Linked DNA regions of Homo sapiens: all the other regions are linked to region 2. Evidence: promoter capture Hi-C in human tissues and cell types (Jung and others, 2019). All regions are on one chromosome and are shown on one strand. Each heading gives the region's core, a stretch centred on a gene start or on the middle of the fragment in contact. The rest is flanking DNA. Distances are from core to core; before and after follow the strand shown. Region 1 holds the start of ANXA9 (annexin A9). Region 2 holds the start of PRPF3 (pre-mRNA processing factor 3). Region 3 overlaps SETDB1 (SET domain bifurcated histone lysine methyltransferase 1).

The links. Contacts are between HindIII fragments. The study calls those that stand out against the background at their distance.
Region 1: a contact is called between the fragment with the promoter of ANXA9 here and the fragment with the promoter of PRPF3 in region 2, in 2 of the 25 tissues and cell types used here (liver and lymphoblastoid cells).
Region 3: a contact is called between a fragment that was not itself captured here and the fragment with the promoter of PRPF3 in region 2, in 1 of the 25 tissues and cell types used here (aorta).

The regions. Positions count from the first base shown.
Region 1 is chr1:150,980,839-150,983,696 of GRCh38, forward strand. It overlaps ANXA9 (annexin A9), which reads left to right and starts at 1,454. Exons shown (of 14, transcript NM_003568.3): 1 at 1,454-1,541; 2 at 1,649-1,745; 3 at 2,252-2,342; 4 at 2,500-2,596. The coding sequence starts at 2,268. It overlaps LOC105371438 (a long non-coding RNA gene), which reads right to left and starts at 667. Exons shown (of 3, transcript XR_922135.3): 1 at 583-667; 2 at 366-475. RefSeq lists an enhancer at 1,978-2,839. The HindIII fragment of the contact is 19,915 bases long and covers 1-2,858 here.
Region 2 is chr1:150,319,964-150,323,146 of GRCh38, forward strand. PRPF3 (pre-mRNA processing factor 3) reads left to right here and starts at 1,570. Exons shown (of 16, transcript NM_004698.4): 1 at 1,570-1,629. RefSeq lists enhancers at 684-1,249, 1,379-1,428, 1,619-1,668. The HindIII fragment of the contact is 24,557 bases long and covers 1-3,183 here.
Region 3 is chr1:150,940,290-150,943,197 of GRCh38, forward strand. SETDB1 (SET domain bifurcated histone lysine methyltransferase 1) reads left to right here. Exons shown (of 22, transcript NM_001366418.1): 5 at 1,040-1,139; 6 at 2,274-2,399; 7 at 2,563-2,764. Among named protein-coding and RNA genes, the nearest start is that of SETDB1, 15 kb to the left of the region's middle. RefSeq lists an enhancer at 305-449 and a cis regulatory region at 377. The HindIII fragment of the contact is 7,414 bases long and covers 1-2,908 here.

The DNA.
Region 1 (2,858 bases), core at 204-2,703, 660 kb after region 2:
AAAGTGCTGGGATTACAGGCATGAGCCACCGTGCCTGGCCACATTACCTTATTTATTTATTTATTTATTTATTTATTTTTATGAGTTCAATAGTTTTTGGGGACAAGGTGGTGTTTGGTTACATGGATAAGTTCTTTAGTGGACACATTACTTCATTTAATCATCCCAGGAAACCTGTCCTCGGAGGCCCCAGCATGTCCCACAGCCTCCGTCTCTCTCAATCCTCCCATTTAGAGAGCTGAAAGGACTAGCGAAGCTTACAGAACATAGGTGGCAGAGCTGGATATTGAACCCTCATTCTCCAGTTCTGACACAGGTGCATGTTTTCCTTTTAACAGGAGAGAAAAGTGAGGAGCAGTGATTACCGCCACAGAAATATCCTTTCATGGCGTGTCCTCCGGCATGGTCTACTCAGTGTGGTGGAGCCACTGCAGGTCCCTCCTCCAGGGATGTAGGAATGCCAGTGAAGGCCTTCCTGAGTTGGGAGAGAGGCAGAGGAGTGAGTGGAGGCAGGGCTGTAGCTTCTGTGCCCCGCCCCTACCCAGGCTCTCCAGGGAGGCAGGAAAGAGGCTGTGTTTAGACCTGAGGGAGCCAGCTGTGAGGCTGGAGCAGTTGCTGCATGGCGGGGCGGGGGCTCCACAGGGCTGTTCACCTGCTGCTCTGTGCAGAGACAGCCTCAAGTCCAGCTGCTGGGGTTGCATCACCTGCAGCTAAAACAGCCACAGGGCCCAGGCTGCCAAAAGGCAACAGAAGCAATCTAAGAAACCAGGCAAGGGAGCCTCCCCCATCTCCCTGTTGCCTTTTGGGAGCATAGAGCTTCCCTCTGAAGGTAACACCCTTTGCATTTTTCTCTCTTGACTCTGTTCATCAACTTCCACTCCCAAATACTTGTGCCCTTCCTTCTCCACAGATATACACAATCCCTGGGCACTCTCCACCTAGGTCAGCTGGCTCTAGTAAGGCAGCAGTCAAGGGAGTTTCTGGGCTGGGACCCCCTCTGGGGTGCAGGCTGGGGTGCCCTGCTGGTATGTGCCCCAACAGGTTTTTCCCTATCAGCCTTGAAATCAGCCTGCAGCCTGTCTGACCTGCCCCCCAGGGAGCTGGAGCCAGAGGCAGAGCCAGGTCAGAAGCTGGGGCAGAGCCAGGTCAGAAGCTGGACTTTGAGACTAGGTCTCTGTGGTCCCACCTGGACCCACAGGGAAGGCAGTGCATAAAAGCCTCCTGTGTTTGAGGCTGAGCCGCTGAGAGGCTGAGTGGAGTTCACTCACATGGATTGAGGCCCAGTTCCTGGGAGAAGAGATGCTGGGCAGGAAGGTGTCTGCATGTGGGACTCTGTACAGCCCGGTCCTCTCCCACGTCTGGGAGGGGCCAGAGTCAGACAACTGCTGGGTTCGTCCCTAAGAGAGGTCATCTGACTGGCTGTTCAGCCTAGGCTGCACACACCCCCACTTTCCTCTACCAGGCCACACCGGAGGCAGTGCTCACACAGGCAAGCTACCAGGCCACAACAACGACACCCACCTCACCTCTGGCACCTCTGAGTAAGTACTGGGCCCACGGCCCCATGCCAGGAGGGCTTGTTGATTGCTTGGGGGAGGGAAAAATGAGTTTTCCTTTTCCAACATGAGAGTGCCTCCTTTCTGTCCAGGCATCCACGTACTTGCAAGAACTCTTGCTCACATCAGCTAAGAGATTGCACCTGCTGACCTAGAGATTCCGGCCTGTGCTCCTGTGCTGCTGAGCAGGTAGGCAGCTGTACAGGCAGGAATTGAGGGTTGCTTGTCAGCTGGGGCTGCCGGTGGGGGAAGATGCTATTTCGAGTTGTCTTCCACTCTGCGTGGTTAATCCTGCCACCTCACCTCAGCTCCCCTGCACTGCCCAGGAGACCCCAGCCAGGCCCAGGAAGGAGGGCCATAGACCTCAGAAGGGAGGCATCTACCGCGGACCAAGGCCTGAGGAGCTTTGGTGCTGACCCTGGCATCAGGGAGGGTTGGCGCCTGGTCCAGGAGCATTCCGCATCAATCCCCACTTCCTAAAGGAGTGGGGAGAGGTGGGGAAGGTGGGGGCTCCCCTCTTACCTCACCATTTCAGCTCCATTTCTGGCTCCAAGCCTAAGCAGGTTGATCTTTTTTTCTGCAGCAAGGAAAGGAACAGGTGACTGGAACCCAGGGTCCAGGGTCTCGGGGGGGTCATAAGGAGTCCCTGAAGGGCCAGGAAATTCAGCTCTGTGGGCTCCTGTTTCCTTCCCCAGGGCAACCAGTAGCACCATGTCTGTGACTGGCGGGAAGATGGCACCGTCCCTCACCCAGGAGATCCTCAGCCACCTGGGCCTGGCCAGCAAGGTAGGGGCTGTTGGGATTTTAGAGATCACTTTTAGTATCTCAGCTCGGGCTGTGAGAGGATGGGAGGCAGGAAAGTGGAGGACAGGCCCTGAGGTTATGCTGAGGAGGTGTAGGCAGCCTGGCCCTGGCCCTTGCCAACTACCCTGTGCTCCCACAGACTGCAGCGTGGGGGACCCTGGGCACCCTCAGGACCTTCTTGAACTTCAGCGTGGACAAGGATGCGCAGAGGCTACTGAGGGCCATTACTGGCCAAGGTGAGCCCCTTTCCCCCGGCACTTGAGACTGCCTTTTAGAGCCAATCTGTAGACCAAGGAGGAGCCAGGAAGGAGGAACTAGTGATGTTGGAGAAATGTTTGTGGAATGCCTTCATTCTTGTATGTCAGGCGCCACAGTAGGTGTGTCAAACCCATTCTCACAACACCCCTGTGAGGCAAGGCTTATTATTTCCATTTTCCAGATGAGGAAACTGGGGCTCAGGGAGATTAAGAGGCTTGCCCAAGGTCACTCAGCTCATGA
Region 2 (3,183 bases), core at 320-2,819:
TCAACAGACTTTTTGAGTGAATATTTTGTGAGACATTGGTGTTAGAAGCTGTAGGTGGGGAAACTGATTTGTGAATAAGTTGAGCAGTAGGTTCAAACTCCCCCAACTTGTTCCTTCAGAGCCAGGCTTTATCCTGTTATGTCGTGCTGCCCCATCAGGGAAGGTGGGGCTTGGTATGTACATTGTTATCTTTAGATACAAAAATCTCCTACTATCTGGGGAATGTGAATAACCTCCCTGAAGAACAACTGCATCTTCTAGTCAGCCTACCACCAAGAAGACATTTTGGAACTTTAGTTTGGATAGTTTATAATATAAAAATAATGGAATTTTTTCCATTTCTCATATAAGAAATTGTGTCATAATACTGGACAATCTTTTTCCAAACTATCTTTGTCCACACACATGTTGTTATGAATCATCGATTTAAAGAGTCAGTAGGGGCCGGGCGCGGTGGTTCAACCCTGTAATCCCAGCACTTTGGGAGGCCGAGGTGGGCGGATCACGCGGTCAAGAGATGGAGACCATCCTGGCCAACATGGTGAAACCCCGTCTCTACTAAAAATACAAAAGTTAGCTGGACGTGGTGGTCGCGCGCCTGTAGTCCCATCTACTCGGGAGGCGGAAGTTTCAGTGAGCCGAATGCACTCCAGCCTGACGACAGAGCGAGACTCCGTCTCAAAAAATAAAAAATAAAAATAAAAAATAAAGGGTCAGTAGGTTAGAGCCTCATTTTGGAGAGAAGTTAATATATAGACCTATTGATAGAATGGAGAAAACAATACTGGTAGGTCTCACTTGTCATTTATTGAGCCCAAAGTGCTGGGATTACAGGCGTGAGCCACGGCGCCCGGCCTGACACCACTGTTAAATTAGGGAGAAAGGGTTTACTTTCTACCAGAAAGGCTGTGTTTGAACACAAACGCAGAAGCCTCGCTCTTCATTCTAGCCTAAGTTTACTTTTGCGCACTTATTCTCCATATGAGGAAAACAGCAAGTAGCCCAATTTCCGCTTCAGGAAGTTAAAGACATTAACTTGGCAGAAATCGGCCGGGCGCGGTGGCTCACGCCTGTAATCCCAGCACTTTGGAAGGCTGAGGCGGGCGGATCACGAGGCCAGGAGATCGAGACCATCCTGGCTAACACGGTGAAACCCCGGCTCTACTAAAAATACAAAAAATCAGCCGGGCGTGGTGGCGGGCGCCTGTAGTCCCAGCTACTCGGGAGGCTGAGGCAGGAGAATGGCGTGAACCCGGGAGGCGGAGCTCGCAGTGAGCCGAGATCGCGTCACTGCACTCCAACCTGGGCGACAGAGCGAGACTCCGTCTCAAAAAAAAAGCTAAAAAAAAAACCTTGGCAGAAATCTAGCTAATAGGTTTAGCCTGGGAAATAGAAAGCAAGGAAATTGCTCAGGGAAACTTTTCGGTTCTGCGACGCATGCGTTCAGCCTCCAAGAAAGTGGCAAATACGGCTGCGCGAATTGGCGGCCCGGCCCTCCTTGGTCACGTGTTGGGAGACAGCGGCGTGGCGGCGGCGGTGGCGGTAGCGACGGCACGCCGTAGGGCGGTCAGAAGGTTTCCGGTTCCGGTGTAACGTTCGGGCTCCGTCTCAGGGGCTGAAGTTTGTGAGGTGAGTAGTGGCCCCGGGCCCACAGAGGGTAATTCCAGTCCGCGCCACTGTGGCCGGGGACTCAGTCCAAGGGGAGGACCGAAGCGGGAGGGTTCAGCGGGAAGGAGTGTGAAAGGAGTACCTGGTTTGGTGGGAGAAGAGGTTGGAATGAGATTGTTGAGAGGAAAAGGGCGGGGGCGGGAAGGAGACCGGGTTGGGAGACCAGCTCTGGGGTGAGGAGTTTAGGTAGAACAAGGTAGAGTAAGAGACTGGTTGGAGTGACGGAGAGAGTAAAAATGAAGATTAGCGGGGGAGTGGGGGGCTGCAGAGGGAAACTCAGGTTGTAGCAAACAAGAGCACGGAGTAAGGAATTCCTTCTGAAGACTGGATTTGGATTCTGCTGCCTGCTCATTGAGAGGAGAGATCATTGTACCTCGCTTTCCTTCCGCACCCCCACTACCCCCGCACCTCGCAGTTATTGTTGAGCATTTGATTAGTGACAAGGCTAATTACCGTTTGAAACTTTTTTATCCATTGGCTGTTTAGTTTGCACGTCATCTTATGGAGGTAACAGTGGCACCTCATTTATTGCTTTGGGCTTTCAAATTGCTTATACTTTCTAGCCTATCATTCAATTCTAGTGGAATATAAGACCCGTTAAGGTGAGGACTCTTGTTAGTTTTGCTCACTGTTTTATGTATCCACCGCACCTAGTACATTGCTTGACACTTAGTAGTTACTCAATAAATATTTATTGAATGAATTAGGATGTAAATATGGCAGTACTCATTTTGTAAGATGGTAAACTGTGGCTCCAAAGAATTACTTAACTTGCCCAAGGGCTTGTAAATGGTGGGGCTCAGTGTCCCAACTGTTTCTGTGTGAACTCTTGTTTTCACTTTCTATGGCATCTGGATATGCCGCTTTTGTGCAATACATGTGTAATATGTAGAAATTGGTACGCTGTATGTCTACTCATTGTGGGGTAATAGAACCACCATAGAATTACTCACGTAACTTGTCACTGAGGCAGAAAATCTTTCAGTCTTAGTTTCATCACTTCAATCTACTAGCTTCCTTTGGATATACCAAAAGTGAGTCTATTTGGCATCAAGTCTTATAGACTCTAGTATAGAGGCTAAACTTACCAAGAATGTAGAAGTTAATCAGACTGGATTTTTTGGAGAAAAGATGTCTTAAAACATCTTGAAAGATGATTCCCAGATCTTTGATAAGTGGCACTGCTGGGAATAGCTGAGCTTGGAAATTGAGGTCAGTCAATTTATTGACTCCCATTTAGACACCTTTTTTTTTTTTCCCCGGGACGGAGTCTTGCTCTGTCGCCCAGGCTGGAGTGCAGTGGTGCGATCTCGGCTCACTGCAACCTCCGCCTTCCATGTTCAAGGGATTCTCCTGTCTCAGCCTCCAGAGTAGCTGGGATTACAGGTGCAGGTCACCACGCCCAGCTAATATTTGTATTTTTAATAGGGATGCGGTTTCACCATGTTGGCCAGGCTGGTCTCGAACTCCTGACGTCAGATAATCCACCCGCCTTGGCCTCCCAAAGTGTTGGGA
Region 3 (2,908 bases), core at 44-2,543, 620 kb after region 2:
GCACATTGGCTCACGACTGTAATCCCAGCACTTGGGGAGTTTCAGGTGGGTGGATCACCTGAGGTCAGGAGTTCAAGACCAGCCTGGCCAAAATGGCGAAACCCCATCTCTACTAAAAAAATATAAAAATTAGCTGGGCATGGTGGTGCATGCCTGTAATCCCAGCTGCTTGGGAGGCTGAGACAGGAGAATCAGTGGAACCCAGGAGGCAGAGGTTGCAATGAGCTGAGATCGCACCACCGCACTCTAGCCTGGGGGACAGAGCAAGACTCTGTCTCAGAAAAAAAAAAAAAAGAGGCTAGGCGTGGTGGCTTACGCCTGTAATCCCAGCACTTTGGGAGGCTGAGGCAGGTGGATCACCTTAGGTCGGCAGTTCAAGAGCAGCCTAACCATGGAGAAACCCCATCTCTACTAAAAACACAAAATCAGGCTGGGCACAGTGGCTCACGCCTGTAATCCCAGGACTTTGGGAGGCTGAGGCGGGTGGAACACGAGGTCAGGAGTTTGAGACCAGCCTGGCTAACATAGTGAAACCCTGTCTCTACTAAAAATACAAAAATTAGCTGGGCATGGTGGCACGTGCCTGTAGTCCCAGCTGCTTTGGAGGTTGAGACAGGTGAATCGCTTGAACCCGAGAGGCAGAGGTTGCGGTGAACCTAAATCATGCCATTGCACTCCAGGCTGGGCAACAGAGCCAGACTCCATCTCAAAAAAAAAAAAAAAATTAGCTGGGCATGGTGGCGCATGCTTGTAATTCCAGCTACTCCGGAGGCTGAGGCAGGAGAATCGCTTGAACCCAGGAAGTGGAGGTTATGGTGAGCCGAGATTGTGCCATTGCACTCCAGCCTGGGCAACAATAGCTAAACTCCATATCAAAAAAAAAGAGTAAGGGCAGCTTTGCCAGATAAAGTAACCATAAGCTTCCAAACATAACTCACTCCATTTTGTTTTGTGAAATACAAGTTGTTTCTTATTCTGAAGTTATTTGTAACCCATGCTACTGTTTCAAAACTTGTTTTCCTCATCCCCTTTTCTACAGCTCCGTGAAGCTATGGCTGCCTTAAGAAAGTCAGCTCAAGATGTTCAGAAGTTCATGGATGCTGTCAACAAGAAGAGCAGTTCCCAGGATCTGCATAAAGGTTAGGGTCAAGAAATACCTGGGTACAGATGGGAGGTGAATTCTTACAGAGATTTTGTCTTAAGTCTTATGTCTGCTAATTGTTTGTGACATGCCAGACTCAGTATCCTTAGTAGTTATGAAATCCCAGTTACATTGATGGTGATTTTTCCAGTCTGTGATGGTTTTATCTCAATACCTCTTTAGCGTCCTACATTTAGGCTGTTTCCATCCTCATGACTGCTTCCAGGTGGAGATTAGGGAGAAGAGAATCACTCAGACTCTTGTTACAAAAAGGTTTGAGGCCAGGTGTGGTGGCTCATATCTGTAATTCTAGCAGCTTTGGGAGGCTGAGGCAGGAGGATCACTTGAGGCCCAGCATTAAAGACCAGCCTCGGCAACATAGTGAAACCCCATCTCTACAAAAAAAAATGTTTAAAAATTCTCCAGATGGGCCAGGCACGGTGGCTCACGCCTGTAATCCCAGCACTTTGGGAGGCCGAGGTGGGCGGATCACAAGGTCAGGAGTTCGACACCAGCCTGACCAACATGGTGAAACTCTGTCTCTATTAAAAATACAAAAATTAGCCAGGCGTGGTGGCGCACGCCTGTAATCTCAGCTACTCAGGAGCCCGAGGCAGGAGAATCGCTTGAACCCGGAAGGTGAAGGTTGCAGTGAGCCGAGATCATGCCACTGCACTCCAGCCTGGGCAACAGAACGAGACTCCATCTCAAAAAAAAAAAAAAAAATTGGCCGGGCACAGTGGCTCATGCCTATAATCCCAGCACTTTGGGAGACCGAGGCAGGCGGATCATGAGGTCAAAAGATAGAGACCATCCTGGCTAACATGGTGAAACCCCGTCTCTACTAAAAATATAAAAATTAGCTGGGTGTAGTGGTGCCACCTTGCGTGCCTGTAGTCCCAGCTACTCGGGAGGCTGAGGCAGGAGAATCGCTGGAACCCAGGGAGGCGGAGGTTCCAGTGAGCCAAGATCGCACCACTGCACTCCAGCCTGGTGACAGAGTGAGACTCCATCTCAAAAAAAAAAAAAAAATTACCCCACTTTCCCTAATTACCATACTACCCTCTTTACCTTCCCGTTCTCTACCGAATCTATGTCATAACTCTTGAGAATAACTTTGCTTCTTCTATAGGAACCTTGAGTCAGATGTCTGGAGAACTAAGCAAAGATGGTGACCTGATAGTCAGCATGCGAATTCTGGGCAAGAAGAGAACTAAGACTTGGCACAAAGGCACCCTTATTGCCATCCAGACAGTTGGTATGTGCAAACTTGGAGGAACCACTCCTGAAAGGCAACCTGCACCCTCCACTGCTGATTGTTTCTTTTCCCCATAACCTTCCCATTTGTCTCTCACATAGCAGCCTGGATTTATACAGAAACTGGCAGTGTTTAAAAAGATTTATCTTTCCCTTTTACTCAGGGCCAGGGAAGAAATACAAGGTGAAATTTGACAACAAAGGAAAGAGTCTACTGTCGGGGAACCATATTGCCTATGATTACCACCCTCCTGCTGACAAGCTGTATGTGGGCAGTCGGGTGGTCGCCAAATACAAAGATGGGAATCAGGTCTGGCTCTATGCTGGCATTGTAGCTGAGACACCAAACGTCAAAAACAAGCTCAGGTACCTGGACAGAGGACTGTAAAGGGGTAGAGGCTGGGAGCACAGCACCTGCCCTGTTCGTGCCATAGACCAGATACCACAATTAGCTTTTGTCTTCTTAGTCCCCAGTGGACTGAAACCCTTACTCTTTCTTTACCACAGGAG